Linked DNA regions of Homo sapiens: region 2 is linked to region 1. Evidence: promoter capture Hi-C in 16 types of primary human blood cells and fetal thymus (Javierre and others, 2016). All regions are on one chromosome and are shown on one strand. Each heading gives the region's core, a stretch centred on a gene start or on the middle of the fragment in contact. The rest is flanking DNA. Distances are from core to core; before and after follow the strand shown.

The links. The method cuts DNA at HindIII sites, captures the fragments that hold promoters and counts their contacts. A CHiCAGO score of 5 or more calls a contact.
Region 2: a fragment that was not itself captured here is called in contact with the fragment with the promoter of ACBD5 in region 1 in 1 of 17 cell types (neutrophils); the score reaches 5.8 in neutrophils.

What each region holds. Positions count from the first base shown.
Region 1 is chr10:27,237,706-27,242,064 of GRCh38, reverse strand. It overlaps ACBD5 (acyl-CoA binding domain containing 5), which reads left to right and starts at 1,268. Exons shown (of 13, transcript NM_145698.5): 1 at 1,268-1,391; 2 at 1,581-1,746. The coding sequence starts at 1,377. RefSeq lists enhancers at 1-46, 1,497-1,756, 1,714-2,216 and a silencer at 1,267-1,376. The HindIII fragment of the contact is 10,066 bases long and covers 1-4,359 here.
Region 2 is chr10:26,723,140-26,727,498 of GRCh38, reverse strand. It overlaps PDSS1 (decaprenyl diphosphate synthase subunit 1), which reads right to left. Exons shown (of 12, transcript NM_014317.5): 7 at 3,582-3,693; 8 at 3,376-3,485. Among named protein-coding and RNA genes, the nearest start is that of PDSS1, 28 kb to the right of the region's middle. The HindIII fragment of the contact is 1,711 bases long and covers 1,421-3,131 here.

The DNA of each region.
Region 1 (4,359 bases), core at 19-2,518:
ACCAAGGTAAATGCCGGCGCCGCGGCTCAGAGGGAAGAGTAACTTACGATCTGCGCCTAGATTTTTCCTAGTAACCCTCCTAACCCATCCCCCTAACTGACAAAAACGACTCTTCCATCCGGGAGACTTTGGGATTTCCGGGCTACAGGACTCCACCCCCCACAACCTAGTCAGTCCCACCACCAACGTTCGGCCTGGGGCACTTCCCAAATGCCTAAGGACGCAGGGGGTTGCGCTAGTAAGTTGAAGGCCCAGGGCACCCCCTTTCTAGGGTTGACGACCCGTAAAGACTCCTCATTGGCCCCGCCCTCTACGCCCAGTATCCTATTTTTATTTTTTTTTTTAATTATTGGTTTCTTAAATAGAGCCAGGGTATCGCCATGTTGCCAGGCTCGTCTTGAACTCCTGGCCTCAAGCAATCCTCCCCACTCGACCTCTCAAAGTATCGAGATTACAGGCGTGAGCCACTGTGCCCGGCCGTCCCCATGCCCAGTCTCCTATTAAATCCCGCTGGAGGTGCCTGGCTCCCTGGGGCTGGGTGGAAAGGGTAGTGTAGGGGAAGTTGCCCTCCGTCCCAGCCCAGTTTAGGAGCCGGCGACCTCCTCTCTCCTTCGGCTGCTCCTCGGACGTTCTTGGCTCAGGGCAGCGAAAACTGTCGAAGACCTGCGGGCCAGGGACTGCTGAGCACCTCCATCCAAGGTCCCCAATGCTTTTCTCCATCTACCCTTTAGAGTGGGTGTCACGATTGCCACTGGAAAGGCTAAGTGACTTGCCCTAGGTCACATAATTTAAATGGCAGAACTGGAGTTTCTCACAGAACCTGTCCCGACTTAAAGCCCTTTGCTTAGGCCCCATTTAACTTCCTCAAACCTTAACTTAGGAGAGTGCAGGCGCTGGGGACCGCAGAGTCATTTTTGTTGCCCAGCGGTGCCGTCGCGTGCAGCTTTGGGCCCAGGTGCAGAACCCAACCGCGCATCCCCAGCGCGCACTTCGTCCACCCGGCTGCCAGAGCGGACACATCGGTCCGGCCTCGGTTTCCCCCTTCTGAACAAAAGCGCGCACAGTGTGCTCCCCGCACCAAGCCGGGACTGTGGCCCCCTTTCCCCGCTTCCCGGACCCTCCTCTGGGGACAGACGGACCGCGCGCGTCCTTGCCGCGGCGGCGGGTCGGGTGGGTGGGGTTTGCTGCACTGCTGCTGCGGCGGCGGCGGCGCCAGTGGGTCCTCCGGTGACTCTGGGGCGGGGCTGTGGGGAGGGCACGGACTGACAGACGGACTCCGGCGGAATGGGGGGTGTGGCTGCTCCGCCAGGGTCCCCAGGGTGGGAGAGCGGCTCCGCGGCCACCGATGCCCGGACCCCCTCTGTCTTCTGCTAGACATGCTCTTCCTCTCGGTGAGTTGTTTTGCTGTCGTCGCGGGCCGGATTCGTGGCCTTAGTCACGCCCCGGGGGAGGAGGAAGGAGCCGGGCCGCTTCGATCTGTGTGGCCTGGATAGGGCAGGGCAAAGGGGAACTGACCCGCTTCGCTCCCGGGCCTCCTCCTTTTGGGGCATGTTGATCCGCGGCTGCGCTCCATGTTCCAGTTTCATGCAGGCTCTTGGGAAAGCTGGTGCTGCTGCTGCCTGATTCCCGCCGACAGACCTTGGGACCGGGGCCAACACTGGCAGCTGGAGATGGCGGACACGAGATCCGTGCACGAGACTAGGTTTGAGGCGGCCGTGAAGGTGATCCAGAGTTTGCCGAAGAATGGTACGTGCGCTGGGCCCCGGCTGTAGACGCCTCCTGCAGAGAGCCCCAAAGCCCCCTTTCACTTTCTGGTTCTAGTGTTGTTTATTTAGCCTTTTTTTCTGTGTAGGAGCCATGTAGTGGAAGGGGAGCTATTGAATATGAATTAATTACCTTTTGATCTTCCAAACCGGAGAAAAATCTAATATCCAGATTTTAAGTACTTCATATTGTTGAAAACAAAAGTCTTGTCACTTAATGACTGCGGATTTGGGTGTGTTAAAAAATAAATCCGGGCCGGGCGCGGTGGCTCAAGCCTGTAATCCCAACACTTTGGGAGGCCGAGGTGGATGGATCACCTGAGGTCAGGAGTTCAAGACCAGCCTGACCAATATGGTGAAACCCCGTCTCTACTAAAAAATACGAAAATTAGCCAGGCTTCGTGGCGTGCGCCTGTAGTCCCAGCTACTCGGGAGGCTGAGACAGGGAAATTGCTTGAACCCGGGAGGCAGAGGTTGCAGTGACCCGATATCGTGCCACTGCACTCCAGCCTGGGCGACAGAGCCAGACTCCATCTCAAACAAACAAACAAACAAACAAACAAAAATCTAGGCTGGGGATGCCTAATGCCACACACTCATAGGGTCTACCAGCTTAAGCGTTTTGAAAACTTTTGATATGAAGGGACAGAAAAGAAAGAATAACTATAGTCAATTGTGAAGTAATTTCTATTTTAATAAATATATATTTTCTACCTTTTTATTTGCTATTCCATTGTATAATGTTCTTTTTTATACTCATATTGGACCTTCTTTGCAGCTGGTGAGAAAAAAGTCATTCCAGTGGCTGATCTCCTTCTTGTATTTAATGTGCTATTTCTCTGGCTGCTTTTTAGATTTCTTTTCTATCTTCGGTTTTCAGCAATTTGACTAGTAGATGTGGTTTTTCTTCATATTAACCCTGTTCACGATTTGCAGAGCTTTTTGAATTTGTAATTTTATGTCATAGACCAATGTGAAGTTTTTGGCCATTAAATATTTTTCTCTGTTCTAAATGCAGAGTCTTAGAAGCAAGACGTACTTTTCAATTCATATCTTTCTACATTATATGAATTATATTTCACAATAAACATATTTATTTCTTTAGAGATGGAGTTCCGCTCTTGTTGCCCAGGCTGAAGTGCAATGGTACAATCTCAGCTCACCTCAACCCCCACCTCCCAGGTTCAAGCGATTCTTCTGCCTCAGCTTACCCAGCAGCTGGGATTACACCCGTGCGTCACCATGCCCGGCTAATTTTGTATTTTTAGTAGAGACGGGGTTTCTCCATGTTGGTCAGGCTGGTATTGAACTCCCGACCTCAGGTGATCTGCCCTCCTGGGCCACCCAAAGTGCTGGGATTACAGGCATGAGCCACCGCGCCCGGCCCAATAAACATATTTAGAAAGTAATTATAGGTGCTACTACTGTGCCACAGTTGTAAAACTAACTGAATACAACAATAATATGTTACTATAGTATTTAATATCATGATTTCTGTTTTCATTAATTATCATTAATTATCAATAATTTCAATAATTATAGGTAACAAATATTCAACACATCATTCAATAAAAATTCATTAAATGCAGATTCAGAAATTTTTAAAAACAAATATACACAAAATAGTGTTCCATTTGTAATTTCTTTCCTTCTATGGTGTTGTCTGAACCTTTTGTAATTTCAAACATTCTATTGGAGGAGGGCATATGGGGGACTGAAAGATAAGAAAGAACAAATAAAATATAAAAAAAAGCATGAACTTATTTAGGTATTGATTTTTTAAGTCCCTAATTATTAGTGTTTATAGAAAGGTATGATTCTAAGAGTTTTATGTAAGTAGTATGTTTATACTTTCTTCTAAAGCACACGTTTTTATAGTTTTTTGAAAATTGGTAAAGCTAGACTGATGTCTCTAGGCCACTATGCCTGTTGACATTATGTACCACTTATTAGGAAACCTGTATAAAGTACAGTTTGTATGTACATAACATTTAAGAAAGTATTGCAAAGTTAACATACCCTATCGGCCGGGTGCGGTGGCTCACGCCTGTAATCCCAGCACTGTGGGAGGCCGAGGCAGGCTGATGCTGAGGCGGGCTGATCACGGGGCTGGCGGATCACAAGGTCAGGAGATTGAGACCATCCTGGCTAATACGGTGAAACCCCGTCTCTACTAAAAATACAAAAAATTAGCCAGGCGTGGTCGTGGGCGCCTGTAGTCCCACCTACTCGGGAGGCTGAGGCAGGAGAATGGCGTGAACCCGGGAGGCGGAGCTTGCAGTGAGCCTAGATCACACCCCAGCCTGGGTGACAGAGCCAGACTCCGTCTCCGAAAAAATAAAATAAAATTAAATTAAATTAAATTTAAAAAAAAAGATACCCTATCAGGCCAGGCGTGGTGGCTCACACCTGTAATCCCAGCACTTTGGGAGATCGAGGCAGGCCCTGAGATCAGGAATTCCAGACCAGCCTGGCCAACATGGTGAAACCCCACTTCTACTAAAAATACAAAAATTAGCTGAGTGTAGTGGCGAGTTCCTGTAATCCCAGCTACTCGGGAGGTTGAGGCAGGAAAATCGCTTGAACTCGGGAGGCG
Region 2 (4,359 bases), core at 1,027-3,526, 520 kb after region 1:
AAAAAAAAAAAAAGAGTGTTCTGCTAATGTGACCCACAATATGCAATTCTGTAGTGGTACTCTGAGGCTTTGAAAATCAAGTAATAGGAAGAGAGCCCATTAATTCCAGGCCACAAGCAGCCCTGGAGAAAATAGAAATTCAGAAAAAAAAAAAAAAAGAGAGAGAGAGAGAGAGAAACAAGGCAGGATTACCATACCCAGCTCTGGGTTCAAGTCTCAACTCAGCTACTGTCTGGCTTAACAACAACTGGACAGGCCCTCTGACCTCTCAGGTCTCATTTCCACCAGATTTCCTGGGAAACAAGCCACTGTCTTTATTAGTAAACTACAAAATGTATTTTGCATGAGTACAAAATGTATTTTGCAAGTGAGTAAGTATGTAAATAAATAAGTCATCTTTTGATAATAACATGAATTCTGGTTTGTTTGTTTTTTTTTTGAGAGACTCTCGCTCTATTGCCCAGGCTGGAATGCAGTGGAGTGATCTTGGCTCACTGCAACCTCCACCTCCCGGGTTCAAGCGGTTCTCCTGCCTCAGCTTCCCAAGTAGCTGGCATTACAGGCGTGCACCACCACGCCCGGCTAATTTTTGTATTTTTAGTACAGACGGGGTTTTGCCATGTTGGCCAGGCTGGTCTTGAAATCCTGGACTAAAGTGATCCACTCGCCTCGGCCTCCTAAAGTGTTAGGATTACAGGTGTGAGCCACCGTGCCCGGCCTAAAATGGATTCTATTTTAATATCAGTCAATCACAAAACAATCCCCCTAGACAGCCCTCTCTTAGATTTTAATATTATTTTCACTAAAAAAAGGAAGGGAGATGAAGAAATGGTATCCTTAGTAGAATGCAGCTTGTAAGTTTCCCTCCAATTCTCAATACATTTTGCAATCCCATTAGTTCTTCTTCTGTAATAATTCTGCTCTTTCAGTTCTCCTCCTCCCCTCTTTTTGGTGTGTCTAATTTGCTTTGCATGCATTTATTTGGAGCTCGCATGGCTTTGCATTTTAAATACCAAGAGTACGTAAAAATAGCCATTTTGAATCCATAACACCTCTGGAATATTTCCACCCATAGGCACTTAAATATAGAAACTTTTATTCAAATAGCTCACACTATCATTTTGCTTTATTATTCTAAGAGCTGTGGAGTTTAGGAATAAACCACATGAAAAGGAGGTAGTGCTGGGACGATGCCAGCATGCCCCCTAGTGGGCAGCATGAAACATTTCATTTTTAATAAGGGTCCAGCCACGTTAACATGTTCACTGTTCGTTCAGCTGCTAATCTTTGAAGAATGAGGTGCATATCTTTATAAAAGAATTCCTGTGCATTATCTTTGGCTTCTTAAACAGAAAACAGTGACCACAAGGAAACCTCTCTATCATGACTCAGGTCCATTTCTTTGGACCCTTTGTAAGCTTCCATCACTGAGTGAATTTCTGTGCTAGCTCCAATTTGGTGCCGCCCCACCCCGTGCCTGCAGGATGTCTGCATGGTGCAGACAGTAAGTCTTGGTGTTTCCAATTCCAATAGTCTCACTACTACTAATGCTTCTAAGACTTTATTTTTTAAACATTATTTTTAAGTAGAGATGGGGATCTTGCTATGTTGCCTAGGTTGGTCTTGAACTTCTGGTCACAAGCAAACCTTCCGCCTCAGTCTCCCTAAATGCTGGGATTACAGGTGTGAGCCACCTTGCCTGACCATGCTAATGCTTCTAAGTTTGCAGTCTCAAATTGTGAAATTATCAATGAGCCTCACTTAACACATCCTCTTAAGGATAAATATTAGTAAGTAATATTAAGGCACCCTAATGTGTTAAGAGGATGGATCCTGACCTTCAGGGAGAGTTGGGCCATCAAGGGCATGATAATATGTAAAGGATTACTGTAAAAGTGTTAGAGCACCCACTTAAAATAGGCTATTCTCTTATTTAGCATCTCGTGTCTATACTTTCTTCCATCTCACTTTAAAAAAAAAACCCACATAATTTCTTGGAAATAAAAACATAATAGCCCTTTTAATAAAAAGACAAAAGTGGTCGAGACTGTGGCTAGCATGTTCTACATAATTCACATTCCTTAAAGTTTCTATTAGGTCTTTTTAGGAAGAAAAGATTGTCCTCATTCTTTTCTGCCTTGCAATTATACATTTCTTGACACTTTTCAAAACAGAGACACTAACAGCAAGAGACTTTTTCATCTGAGAGGTCTGAGCAAAAGCTCTCTTTACCTGTTAATTATGTTAGGAGTCTATCATGACAGCAATTGACATGCGACCCTTACAGGTCTTCCTTATTTTGTGGCTGTAATTACATGGGAATGTCATTTGTCCAGGTTTTGTCTCTGTGTATCTGTCAGGCTTAGAGATGGGCAGATAAACAATTCTATGGAGAGACTGCTTTTCATTCTTGGACTAACGATGAATACCACACATTTGTCTACGGATTAAAGGTATTACTCATTAAAAAAAAAATGTATACATGTGTATGCACAGCGGAGGGAGGGAGAAAGCAAGGGGAAAAACAGTTATGGCTTATACTCAATTTGTACTCTGAAGAAATAGGACTTGTTTATATTTCATGTAAAAATATTAGAAGGATTGGCCAGGTGCAATGTATTGGCCAGGTGCAATGGCTCATGCCTGTAATCCCAGTACTTTGCAGGGCCAAGGTGGGTGGATCACTTGAGGGCAGGAGTTTGAGACCAGCCCGGCCAACATGGCAAACCCCCATCCCTATGAAAAATACAAAAATTAGCTGGGTGTGATGGCGCACACCTGTGGTCCCAGCTACTAGGGAAGCTGAGGCAGGAGAATTGCCTGAACCTGGGAGGTGGAGGTTGTAGTGAGCCAAGATCACACCACTGCTTTGTAGCCTGGGCCACACAGCAAAAGACTCTGTCTCAAAAAAACACAAAAAACAAAAAAACAAAAAAAAGTTCATAGAATGCTAGTACAATCTAACAGATATCTTTTCCTGAGTAAATATTATATTAAAGAACAGAGCACTTCATTTCTAAAAGGTGAAGTGTCAGAAAGAGTGTGTGTGATATCAATCATTAGAGAAATTATGATAAATTGTTCAAAATGATACAGTTTGGCAATCAGATTGGGGAAGGTGCGGGAAAGCTTATTTTGATTGAATTCTTGGGAAGAAAAGATGAAAAGTCAACGCCTGCATACCAAAAGAAGATGGCAAAAATGAAAACACAGCAGAAGTCCTCTATTGTTTGGGGATGTCATTCTTTTCCTCATTAACCTCTTGGGATTTTTGGGTACTATTTTAAGATTCTTCACCGAAATATTTTCTAGGAAAATTAGCTCCCAAAAAAGAGCTATGAGGCTTTAACTTGAAGAAAGACAGAACGTACATACTGCTTTACAACTGTTGGCTATCAGGCTGGCGGTCTTCTTGAATGTCTTCTCAAGGTAGTGTGCAAATCTTTCATTCTCATTTTCTTTTGACCCGAGCTGAAGAAATTCACCTATAAAGAAGGAAAGGAGTCATTTGAGAGGTGGCTTTATTGCCTGGCTAAACACCAGGGTTGAATAACAAAGAAGAAAAATCAGAATCAACGTACCACGCACCAAATCTTCAATAACTTGGGTTAAAATAGATATAACAGTTGTATTTCCAATTCGTGCCAGAGCTATAGATGCTGCAGAAAGAATTAAATCTCCAGCAAGAACAGCCTAGAAAAAGACAGGGGGAAAACAGAACGTTCTGAAAAATCCATCAGAGCAGTAGAGCCAATGATGAAACTGACTGGAAGGGAGCTTCGTGGAAGTGGGGGCTCATCTTGGATGCAGGGTTTTTTACCTTCTTCTTCCTCAACAGGAGTCCGTAACAATCAGTTACAGATTTGGAACAGTGTTTGAACTGGACTGGCTCTCAGAGATGACCATGTCACTTCCCAGTTCGTAATAATCAGTTACAGATTTGGGACAGTGTTTGAACTGGACTGGCTCTCAGAGATGACCATGTCACTCTTCCCAGTTTCTAATAATCGGTTACAGATTTGGGACAGTACTTGAACTGTATTGGCTCTCAGAGATGACCATGTCCATCTCCCCAGTTGACACCTGAAGAAATCAATGCCTGGAGAGGGAGAGCAGCTTCACTCACCAGCCCCACCAAAATGCAGCTGCCTTCAGTTTCACTACACTGGATGTTCATTCTTCCTTTGTGCCTTTCCACTTACTGTTCCTTCTGCTCAAAAAGTTCTGCCCCCTTCTTCACTGAGTGGACTTATTTGCATAATTGGTTCAGATGCCACCTCTAAGAAGTTCCCCCCGATCCCTCAGTCTGGTCAGATGCCTCCCTTTTGTGCGTGTACAACACCCATGCATGCTGCGACC